Regions from separate parts of the Homo sapiens genome. Here all the other regions are linked to region 1. The links are contacts of gene promoters, found by promoter capture Hi-C in blood cells and fetal thymus (Javierre and others, 2016). All regions are on one chromosome and are shown on one strand. Each heading gives the region's core, a stretch centred on a gene start or on the middle of the fragment in contact. The rest is flanking DNA. Distances are from core to core; before and after follow the strand shown. Region 1 holds the start of TRAIP (TRAF interacting protein). Region 2 overlaps RNF123 (ring finger protein 123). Region 3 overlaps RBM6 (RNA binding motif protein 6).

Region 1 (3,941 bases), core at 769-3,268:
TAAGGGAAAGGAGGAACAATTAGGACGTGGCAATGAGACCTGGCAGGGCAGAGTACAAGCCCAGCACCCAGTGTCCCAGCCTTACTGGGTCCTTACCCTGGGCCAAACAGGGAGGGCTGATACCTCCTTGCTCTTCCTAGATGCCCACCTCCTACAATCTCAGCCCACAAGTCCTCTCCACCCTAGGGGGCTTGCTGCATGGCAATAACTCATAATCTGATTTGGAGGTTTGCCCTTTACAGGGGCAGATTTTCTGCTCAGTTCAACAATGAAATGAAGAGGAACTCCCTCTTTCTACAGCTCACTTCTATCAGAGGCCCAGGTGCCTCAGAGCCACATTGAGTTGCTTTTTCTGGGATGAGGAAGTAGGGTTAAACTCCCCAGTTTCCTGAGGGAGGCTCCTGACAGGTGCCCTTTGTCAGACCCTACCACAGCCTGGATAGGCAGCCACATTGGTCCTCGCCCTTGCTCGGCACTCCGTGGTGGTCCTGCCCTTCTCCCTGCATGCCTGTGGGTCTGCTCTGGTGTGTGAAGGTCGGTGGGTTAACTGTGTGCCTACTGAACCTGGCAAATAAACATCACCCTGCAAAGCCTCTGGCCACCCTCTCGCCTTTGCTTCCTCTGTCCTACTGGGGAGGAGCCCCTGGAAGGCAGTGGGGAAGGGAGAGGCTGGGAGCAGGTTCACAAGTAGTGGCTGGGAGTAGTAGTGAACAGTGCCCTGTGGATTTCTTGGGCTGAGGGTGAAGATCATCCTCACCACAGTGTATTCCTCAATGGTGGTGGTGGTGGGGGTCCTCTGAACTCTAGAAATCCATGTGAGTAGTGGGTCTTGGGCTGCATTTGGACCAAGGAATACTCCCTGGGCTGAGAGCTCAAGTAAGGGCTGCTGTTTTTGACTCCTGTTGACCGAGGAGCCTTACTCTTGATTTAGGCATAGAGCTGGAATCTACCTGGGCCAGCCACCGCAAGGACAGACCCTGCTCATAGCCAAAGATAGCTTCCCTGAGCTAGGGAGAGGGTGTAGGGTGAGCAATGCACAAAGATTCTATGCTGCTCTGTGTTGATTCCTTCTTTCTGTGAACACCTGTGCTTTCCACCTATGCCCCAAATGAAATCTCACTCTGGGTCTATTTCAGCTGGAGCAGATCAGCTTTATATTATGGGACTATGCACAGGGTTTCTTCTGGGTAGAGGGAGTAACACTGCCACAGATACTAAGCCTAAAAACCCAAAAGTTGACTTACTCCAGCCCAGGTGGGCCTGGGTGAACTCACCAGGGATGCTGCTCTCTGGGAGGACCTCAAAGATAACCTCCTCAAAGATAACTTCTCTGATGTGGGAATAATAAAAAGGATTTGTTAGTCTCTAGTCTTTGAAGCATCTGGGCCTCCAAAATTCCAACCCTACTACAGTCTCAAGCATAACTGATCCTCCTGAGAGCTAAGAGCTAAAGTCAGGGTACTGGCCCTAGTGTCTCCAAACTCAAGGATAGTCATATCTTACTTGGATGAAGCCAAGGTTGGCCTGGGGTGACCTGAGGGACTGGGGCCTATGTGTCCATCTTTCTAGAATCGCCCGGAACTGAGGACTGAGAGGGTAGGGTATTGTGGTCTATGGGAACTACAGACCATAGCGCATGGTCCATCACTGTCCAGAGCCCAAGGGACCCATCGGGACCATTGTTCTATTCCCTTGCGGCTGCGGTTTTCTCTGCCTTGGCCCAGCCTGCCTCGCGCCAGCTCTGGCATGGGACCACAATGCGCTGCCTTGCCCTGGAAAAGGGTCCAGCTGGCAGCCTCGCTGCTCCCCGCCTTGATATAATGCTGCGCTCTCAAGTGGCAGGTCGAGTCTCCCCAGAGGACGCCTGAGAGCGACCGCGCTCCGCCCAGGATTCTCTACGGCCTCGGGGCCGCTAAGCCCCGCCCATAGTTCCGCCCATCCGAGAATTTGTCCAATCCAGGCGAAGTATTCACGCTCCGCCCAAAGTTTTGTGTTGTCACTTCCGGCCCGCTCCAGGAAGTCGTGCTGCGGAGCCAAATTTGAAGCAAGCGGAGGCGCGGGGGCGCGTCTACGAAGCCGGACCTGTAGCAGTTTCTTTGGCTGCCTGGGCCCCTTGAGTCCAGCCATCATGCCTATCCGTGCTCTGTGCACTATCTGCTCCGACTTCTTCGATCACTCCCGCGACGTGGCCGCCATCCACTGCGGCCACACCTTCCACTTGCAGTGGTGAGTGACTGCAGTGTTGGGGCCCGGTGTTTGCCCGGGTACCGCTTCAGGGCCTTGAGGTGTTGGGCCTCCAGGCGGTCCAACCCCGGAATCCAGACAAGTGATGAGAACCTTCCTCCTAGACGAGGCCCCACGGGAGCTTCCCAACCTGGGCAGAAGTGGGTCAGGACAGGCTTTCTGGTAGAGGTGATAGCTGAGCTAAGCCTGAGGGGGACTAAGATGGCTCAGTGAAGATAGATGCTTCCTTGATCACCTATACAAACAGATGTGATTTCAAAACCGTTAGCCTGGGCAAGGGTGAGCTTTCACCACATCAACAAGTCCTTTTATTTCTTCCAGATAGAAACCTGCTAGGCTTCTGGCTACCCAAGAGAGTTTGCTGTGCCTTACTTGATGGTTTGGAATTATTCTACCCAGAGTCATCTCACTGTCCAGACACCCCAATGTATTCGCCATGTCAGCAAACCCGTTTAACATGGGGAAGGCAAGGAGATGCTCCCCTATCCAGGGGTCCTGCTGACCGTGTAGGGCCATTCTGTTGAGTGTACAGCTAGTGGGGAAAGATTCCCCTAGCAGATGTGGACAGGCCGGTTTGGACCTCCTAGCAAAAGAGATAAGGCAGCGTTACCCCTGGGAATGGTGGGTGATAATAATCACAGGGTCTTGTGGGGCTAAAGGCCCTAGGAAGCAGAAAGGCAGGCATGACACTGATGGCTGCTGGCTTACTTGCAAAGCTTTGTTTAGGCCTGTGTTGCTGACAGCCTGAGCCCCATGCTGAGGGAGCCACTGCTGTTTGGTTAGACTAGAAATTAAGCTCGCCTCTAAGCGTACTCTATTTTCTGTTTGCCTACTCTATTTTCTTCTATCCTTTTACTTTATTTATTTATTTTTATTTTATTTTATTTTTGAGATGGAGTCTCGCTCCTGTCGTGTAGGCTGGAGTGCAGTGGCGTGATCTCGGCTCACTGCAACCTCCACCTCCTGAGTTCAAGTGATTCTCCTTCCTCAGCCTCCCAAGTAGCTGACATTACAGGCGTGCGCCACCACGCCCAGCTAATTTTTGTGTTTTTCATAGACAGGGTTTCTCCATGTTGGCCAGGCTGGTCTCGAACTCCTGACTTCAGGTGATCCACCCACCTTGGCCTCTCAAAGTGCTAGGGCCTATCCTTTTACTTTAAACTTTTCTGTGTCCTTGTGTTTTACATGTATCCCTTGAAACAGCATTTATTTCTTTTTTTGTATATTAAAAAGTACTTTAGCTTACTGCAAAGATCTTTATTTTATTTTATTTTGAGACAGGGTCTCACTCTGTTACACAGGCTGCAGTGCAGTGGTGCCATCTCGGCTCACTGCAGCCTCTACCTCCTGGGCTAAGGTGATTCTCCCATCTTAGCCTCCCAAGTAGCTGGGACTACAGGCGCCTGCCACCATGCTTGACTATTTTTTTTTTTTTGTATTTTTAGTAGAGATGGGGTCTTGCTATGTTGCCCAGGCTGGTCTTGAACCCCTGGACTCAAGTAATCCACCCACCTCTGCCTCCCAAAGTGCTAGGATTACAGGTGTGAACCACCGCACCCAGCCTTGGAAAACAACATTTAGTTGGACTTTTAAAAATCCAGTCTGATAATCTTTGTATTTAACTGGACCATTTAGTCTACTTAAAATTGTTGCAATTACTGATTAAATAAAGAGTAAACATATTGTCTTTAGTCGAT
Region 2 (3,861 bases), core at 12-2,511, 150 kb after region 1:
AGGGCAGGCAGATCAGTGTCTCCCTGCCTGAGTGGGTGGAAAGACTTGGGCACCCTCTGGTGGCCATAGGATGGCTCAGCATCCACAGCAGAGCAGGCTCAGGGACAGTCCCCCACCTGGCCCCAGAACTGCTCCCGGCCCACAGGCCTGTACACACCTTTGAGGGTCTTCCGCAGGTGCGAGAGGAGGCCCCCCAGGCGCTGCAGGTCAAAGTAGTCCACCTTGCCATTATAGAAGACCTGGGGCGGGATGTAGGCCTCTGCGAGGAATTGAGGAGGCTAGGCCAGTGGTCACGGCCCAGTAGGAAGACCCTCCCCACAGCCCTCCCCTCCAATCTGGCCTAGCACAGCCTGGGAATTCTGGCTTTGGCCACTCACCCATCCAGGCAGACAGAGAAACTGTCTCCTGGACCAAGAAACAGACCTCCCCTACCTCTTCTCCACCCCTGCCATTTCAGGTCAGAGCCAGCAGCTGCATAACTTGGGGTGATGGGGGTACTCATGGCAGCCGTTCACTCAGGAGAAGCAGAGAGGCCCAGCCCCAGTCCTGTGGGATATCCCCCAATCCAGGGCAGGTAAGGCTCCCACTGACCCTTGGGGACTCAAACACAGGGCCCCCCAGCACCCACCCAAGGCAGCCCTATAAAGGACGCACAGAGAAATGGGGGGGCAAGGACGGAAGAAAAGAGCCCACAATGGTAGGAGCCCGTGGGACAATCAGAGCAAACACAGGATCGGCAGGCCTGCGGTGCAGGGCTCCTGCTGCCCCAGTGGAGAAGCCGCCTGTGGCTGGGTAGGACTCAACCAGGCAGGATGCCGGGGACAACTCCCCACAGCCCACAGCCTCAGCTCAGCACTCTGCACTAACATTAGGGGCTGCCCTACGCCTGGCTCTGTCCAGCCTCACTGACCTGGGACCCCGGTGCCACTCACCCTCACTGAAGGAAGCATGAGGATTGGAAGCCTTGTATTCATCCCAATAGTAGCGCAGGGCAGAGATCAGCCGGTGTAAGAAGCAGACCATGTACTCAGGGGGGCAGAGCATGGGCATGTTCTGTGGACACCAGGCATGAAACATGCATTGGTGCCAGTCCAGTGCCTTGCCCATTCCTCATCCAAGGCCCTGCCTGAGGGTCGAGGGTTAAGCAGGGAGGGAAAAGCAGCAGAGAAAAGCTTGGGGCTAGGCAGGGATGAGGCAGTCCGAGAAGTGCCAGGTGCTGAGGGCATGGCATGTGTAGTGCAGCCGGGGATCCACAGTGGGCTGGCCTGGAGGACACCTACCCCCCGGCCACTGGCGTTCTCCTGCAGAAACTTGCGAAACTTGGTCAGGAAGATATACCTAGAAGCTTCACCCTTTGAGAGAGGGAAAAGTGAGGCTGTGCTGAGCTGAGAATGCAGGCCCAGACTGGGCTGGCTCAGTGCTGCACCTTCCCCCAGCCCCTGCCATGGGAACCAAACCCAGTTCCCACCCTCTGGGTCTTAAGGCCCAGTGCAGCATCCCTCCCCACAGGGCCCCACCCAGGGCTCCTGGGAGTCACTCACCCCATTGTCATCTTTATTGTCCAGCAGCAGCTTCAGGATCTGGACCTGTAGTTCTTCCACCACTGGAGGTCAGGTGAGGAACATGGCCCTCAGGCTCCAGGAGATGGGGGGCAGGTTTGGGCCAGGGCTCCACCACCAGGGTTCCCCAAGTCCCACCTAGACATGGGCACCTCCAAGCACCCTCATGTGCACACACACACCTCCCACCCTACCCCGTGCCCAAGGCGGGCTGACCTTCGATGCGCTTCCTGAGCCGCTGACAGCCCCGTTCGTAGGCTCGCCGCCGCAGCCGCTCCTCTGCGGTCTCCTCCTTCATCTCCGTGCTCTCTTTGCCCTAGGCAGGGGTAGCAGGTGGAATACAGCAGGGTCACCTGGGACCTAGCCAGGCCTCCTTCACTCAGAACACCCACACTCCATCTCCAGGGCTTCAGGGACCAGGGCCAGTGAAAAGGCCTCATGCTAGATGCCCAGTGGCCAGATGCCCAGGCCAGGGGCCTTGCCATGACCTCTGCCCATCCCACTTGGGGTGCACTCACCTCCCTACTGGAGCAGTGGGGCCACCAGGTGGTGGGAATGAGCTCCTGCAGGCCGGCCTCCTCCACACGCAGGGGGCTCTTGATGTAAAAGAAGACGACGGAGCGGAGCACGTCGAAGCTGGCGGGTGTCAAGGCAGGGCTCTGCTTGCCAAAGGGCACTCTGCACACCCTCAAGAGTCCTTCCCCAGGAGCCCATCCCTGGATGTGCCTACCACAGCTCTCCCACCACCACAGGGGCATGTTGCTGCTATGTGTCTGACCCCCAGGGCATGCTCCCTGACAAAAAGCTGTGGTGGTTAAGCCCACCAGCTCCAGTACCCAGCAGGTGCACGATAAGGGCTTGTCACAGGAACAGATGACTGTGGGACAAGCTGGAGAGAGGGACTGGTGGCCTTTTCTCAGGCCCCAACTCTGACCTCTGTGTCTCCCAGCTTTGTGTCTGCCTCCTGGAGGCTGGAAGACCCCAGACCAAGAAAACGGCTACAAGCTGAGGCTTCCCAGCCAGGGGCTCAAAGCTATGCTCTCACTCACTCATGCAGTTCCCAACAATTCTGGGAAGCAGGAAGAGCTGCCTCCTTAAAGATCTTGCAGGAATCCCCACTGTGGAACATGAACAAAAGTGCTGGGCTGTGGCCGAAGAGGGCAGGCCCTGTGGCCCCTCCCACACCTCTGCGTAGCCCGAGTCTGCAGTCATTCAGAACCCCCTGGCTAGGCTGGCTGGCCAGGCTCAGTCCTTTGCTCTCTCGTCCTTGCTCTGTAGAGAAAATGCCACGTTGGGCAGCTCTGGTCCTCCTGATGCTCCCAGGGGACCCCTGGCCTGATGACACTCCCCTTCCTGGCCTCTGCTGAGTCCAGAGGGCACCCCATGTCTGGCCTGCCAGGCAGCAAGGAAAGGATACAGGACATTGCTAAGCAGAAACTTGCGGGACTTCTCATGCCTCAGGATGGCGATAGTGAGCCGCAGGTAATGGATCTGTGGAGAGGGGGCGTTCAGAGTGGACAGGCGAGTCCCAGGGGGCTCAGGGCAGGGGTAGGGGCTCCCACCTGTAGGCCCAGGTCTGGGACAATGGGTGAGAATCGGTACAGCCGAAGCAGAGACATCATCAACTGCTTGAGGCAATCTTGTACCTCGTAGTCCTGGGGGAAGAGATGCCAAGGCAGCCATGACTGGGGCCTTTTCCAAGATTCTCCCCGTATCTTCCCGACCCCAGTGAAGACTGACAGCCAGGCCTGAGGCCTGAGGTCAGGAGCCTCACCTCCATGAAGAGCCACAAGAGGTCCAGGACCTGGTGCACCACGGACTGTGCCTGTGTGGGTGTGCCCTTCTCCACGATGCCCAGCAAGAAGCTCATGAGCACAGCCTCCACCAGATACACCTTGCGCTGCACCAAGGCCAGGCACTGGTGAGGTGGTGGCCTTCCACTCTGGTCAAGGCACCCCTGCCCTGGCACATGGCCAAGGCACAAGCCTCAGGCACAGAGCCTTGAGCCACTCGAGCAACACCAAACATAGATGACCCCTTCCGGGGTCTGACTGAGGGACAAGAAGGCCATTGCCCCACGGCTCCTCTAAGGCTTGGCACACGCAGTTTCCTTGGCCTGGGATGTTATTATCCTTCAGTCTTCTTTCCAGGACATCCCCTGATGCCCTTGGTTGGCAATGTCCCTGTTTCCCTAGGGGACTGACTGAGGTCTGAGGGCCCTGGTCACATGGGGCCCTCGCCAGGTGATGCTGTGGGACCTCAGCACTGCAGCCCTCAGTGAGGGCACATCTACCACGGGCGT
Region 3 (3,613 bases), core at 232-2,731, 210 kb before region 1:
GGGAGACATAGTGAGGTAAAAGACCAACACCAGAGGAAGGCATCAGCCTTTGCGCTTCCTCTTCTACTCGGAACCATCCCCAGCCCCAGCCCTAGGTCCAGGGGATCAATGTTGGTCTTACTGGAGGGGGACTCTCTTCCTTCTTCACAGTAGGAGGCAGGGGCTTCTTAAAGACGTCTTCTGCAGGGGCCTTCCCTTCACTGGCATTTTCCTGAAACTGATCAAACCAGAGGTAACTCTCACATGATATTCACTCATAATAACTGATAAAGGCTGGGCTGGGTGCGGTGGCTCACGCCTATAATCCCAGCACTCTGGGAGGTCAAGGCAGGTGGATCACAACGTCAGGAGATCGAGACCACCCTGGCTAATGCAGTGAAACTCCATCTCTACTAAAAATACAAAAAATTAGCTGGGCGTGGTGGCGGGCACCTGTAGTCCCAGTTAGTAGGGAGGCTGAGGCAGGAGAATGAACCCGAGAGGCGGAGCTTGCAGTGAGCCAAGATTGTGCCACTGTGCTCCAGCCTGGCCAACATGGTGAAACCCCGTCTCTAGTAAAAATACAAAAATTAGCTGGGTGTGGTGGTTTTGGCCTGTAATCCCAGCTACTTGGGAGGCTGAGGTAGAAGAACTGCTGGAACCTGGGAGGCAGAGGTTGCAGTGAGCCGAGATCGTGCCACTCCATTCCAGCCTGGGTGACAGAGAGAGACTCTGTCTCAAAAAATAAAATAAAATAAAATAAAACGTTAGTATATATTGCATGATTACTGTATGTCAGACCAGATGAGGCATGTATATATAAACATTGTCTTCTTCAGACTTTACTATGATCCTCCTATGTAAGCTTTACTATCTTAATTTTACAAATGATTGGGAATATAGTTTGACAGATTAAGTGGCTGAAGCAGAGTCCAAATATTAAATCAGTATGACTCTAAGTTTTTAAACACACACACACACTCTCTCTCCTCTTTTCTGTATCTCTAAACAACTAACAGTGTTAGAAGGGGAAAAAAAGGCTGGGCGCAGTGGCTCATGCCTGTAATCCCAGCACTTTGGTAGGCTGAGGTGGGCGGATCACAAGGTCAGGAGTTCGAGACCAGCTTGACCAACATGGTGAAACCGCGTCTCTACTAAAAATACAAAAATTAGCTGGGCGTTGTGGCAGCGCCTGATATCCCAGCTACTCAGGAGGCTGAGGCAGGAGAATCCCTTGAGCCTGGAAGGCGGAGGTTGCAGTGAGCCGAGATAGATCACGCCACTGCACTCCAGCCTGGGCGACAGAGCGGCTCCGTCTCAAAAGAAAAAAAAGGGAAAAAAAGGTGTTATGAATTGAATCACAAGCAAATTCATCCATTTTCACTAATGCATAACTGATATCAAGGTAGGTGTGATCTTGGCTCACTGCAACCTCTGCCTCTCAGGTTCAAGAGATTCTCCTGCCTCAGCCTCCTGAGTAGCTGGGACTACAGGCTTGCGCCACCACGTCCAGCTAATTTTTGTCTTTTTAGTAGAGATGGGGGTTTCACCATATTGGCTAGGCGGTCTCAAACTCCTGACCTAAAGTAATCCGCCTGCCTTGGCCTCTCAAAGTGCTGGGATTACAGGCATGAGCCACCATGCCCGGCAGATTTTCTTTTTTTTTTTTTTTTGAGACAAGTCTGGCTCTGTTGTCCATGCTGGAGTGCAGTGGCGCAATCACAGCTCACTGCAATCTCCTGGGCTCAAGCGATCCTCTTAACTCAGTCTCCCAAGTAGCTTGGACTACAGGCATGCATCACCACAGTAGGCTAATTTTTTTTGTATTTTTGGTAGAGATGGAGTTTCACCATGTTGCTGGTGTCAAACTCCTAAACTCAGGCATCCACCTGTCTTGGCCTCCCAACGTGCTGGGATTACAGGTGTGAGCCACTGCACCCTGCCTAATAATTTGATTTTGTATTAGATGTAAAAATGTTCATCATCTCTGATTCTGAAAATGTGTCATAGGGAGTAATTTAAAAGAAGAAACAAAATGCTAAATGTTATATATTATGACAGTATAAGATTAGAAAGAGGCGAGCAAGGTGGGTCTTGCCTGTAACTGAAGCACTTTGGGAGACTGAGACAGGAAGCTTACTTGAGGCCAGAAGTTCGAGATCAGCCTGGTCAATCTAGCAAGATCCTGTCTCTACAAAAAAGCAAAAATTAGCTGGTCATGGTGGCTCATGCCTGTAGTCCCCGCTACTTGGGAGGCTGAGGTGGGAGGACTGCTTAAGCCCATGGGTTTGACGTAGAAGTGAGCTATGATCATGCCACTGCACTCCAACCTGGGAGACAGAGGAAGACTTTGTCTCAGAAAAAAAAAAAAAAAAAGGAAAAAGAAAAGATTAGAAAGAGAAGACAAATAATGTAGGAGAGATGAAGAAAATGAAGGTACAGTTATACCGTGAATTTTTACCATGTGGGCATTAAAAATAATAGAGTATATAGAAACATGGAAAAAATACTTAGGATAAAAAGTGACTAAACAGTATCTCCTGCTATAATTACAACTAGAGAAATGTGTATAAAGTCAAACACTAAAAAAGGAATGTAGAAAAGTGAAAATGTATGGAGCTGAGGTGTTGGGATTTGAGCTGGGCCACTTTGTTCTACCATCCATAGTTTTCCCATTTGTAAAAGAGAGAGTTGGGATATAAGAGGTGAGGGAATTGCCTACACCAGGTAAAAATACTCATTAACAGAGGTTTTTTTTTTTTTTTTGATACAGAGTCTTGCTCTGTTGCCAGGCTGGAGTGTAGTGGCGCGATCTCGGCTCACTGCAACCTCTGCCTCCAGGGTTCAAGCAATTCTCCTGCCTCAGCCTCCTGAGTAGCTGGGACTACAGGCGTGTACCACCACACGCAGCTAATTTTTGTATTTTTAGTAGAGACAGGGGTTTCACCATGTTGGCCAGGATGGTCTCGATCTCCTGACCTCATGATCCGCCCGCCTTGGCCTCCCAAAGTGCTGGGATTACAGGCGTTAGCCACCACGCCCGGCTGACAGAGTATTTTTAAAGTTACTTTACACTTGCAAACATAGATATCCTCTGTTCGTACCTCCAACATTTTAATAACTATGTGGCAAAAGACAGCAAATTAACAATTCCTCTTACCCTCGTCACTCCTCTGTCTTTTTTCTCCTTGCCATCTCTTTTAGACATTTCCTTCTTGCTACTTGACTTTCCTTGACTGGTGGGTTTTTTTTCCTTGATCTCTTCTTCCTCAGGTAATCCAGGATCCTGGGGCACATAGACTTCTTGCTGCGATACAGTTGGAAACAAGTAAGTCTACAGAATGTTTCAGTTTCCCAGCAATTCCAGGTCTAAGGCGCACAGTTCCCTTTTAGGGGAAGAAACAACTTTTTTACTTACAAGTCTAAGAAGAGTCCACATCAATCTAAAAACCCACTCCAGGGACCAGGACACATTCAGACCACCCACTGTCCACTTTTTCAAGAGCAACACTGTTCTTACCTGTATTGCCACAAGGCACTGATTTTCCATATAGGCAACAGTTCTGTTTCCATAGATCTAAACTTTTCCACTTTTCATGCAATGAGCATCCAGAGAATCCAGGGAATAAAATCC

The links. The method cuts DNA at HindIII sites, captures the fragments that hold promoters and counts their contacts. A CHiCAGO score of 5 or more calls a contact.
Region 2: a fragment that was not itself captured here is called in contact with the fragment with the promoter of TRAIP in region 1 in 6 of 17 cell types (megakaryocytes, naive B cells, endothelial precursors and 3 more); the score reaches 8.3 in megakaryocytes.
Region 3: a fragment that was not itself captured here is called in contact with the fragment with the promoter of TRAIP in region 1 in 1 of 17 cell types (endothelial precursors); the score reaches 5.3 in endothelial precursors.

The regions. Positions count from the first base shown.
Region 1 is chr3:49,854,641-49,858,581 of GRCh38, reverse strand. TRAIP (TRAF interacting protein) reads left to right here and starts at 2,018. Exons shown (of 15, transcript NM_005879.3): 1 at 2,018-2,226. The coding sequence starts at 2,129. It overlaps CAMKV (CaM kinase like vesicle associated), which reads left to right. Exons shown (of 11, transcript NM_024046.5): 11 at 1-593. The HindIII fragment of the contact is 3,060 bases long and covers 1-2,962 here.
Region 2 is chr3:49,699,825-49,703,685 of GRCh38, reverse strand. It overlaps RNF123 (ring finger protein 123), which reads right to left. Exons shown (of 39, transcript NM_022064.5): 13 at 3,334-3,459; 14 at 3,122-3,214; 15 at 2,977-3,050; 16 at 2,078-2,195; 17 at 1,776-1,875; 18 at 1,542-1,603; 19 at 1,281-1,352; 20 at 933-1,053; 21 at 158-259. Among named protein-coding and RNA genes, the nearest start is that of RNF123, 12 kb to the right of the region's middle. RefSeq lists a silencer at 1-130. The HindIII fragment of the contact is 173 bases long and covers 1,175-1,347 here.
Region 3 is chr3:50,061,635-50,065,247 of GRCh38, reverse strand. RBM6 (RNA binding motif protein 6) reads right to left here. Exons shown (of 21, transcript NM_005777.3): 15 at 3,140-3,286; 16 at 122-217. Among named protein-coding and RNA genes, the nearest start is that of RBM5, 25 kb to the left of the region's middle. The HindIII fragment of the contact is 1,270 bases long and covers 847-2,116 here.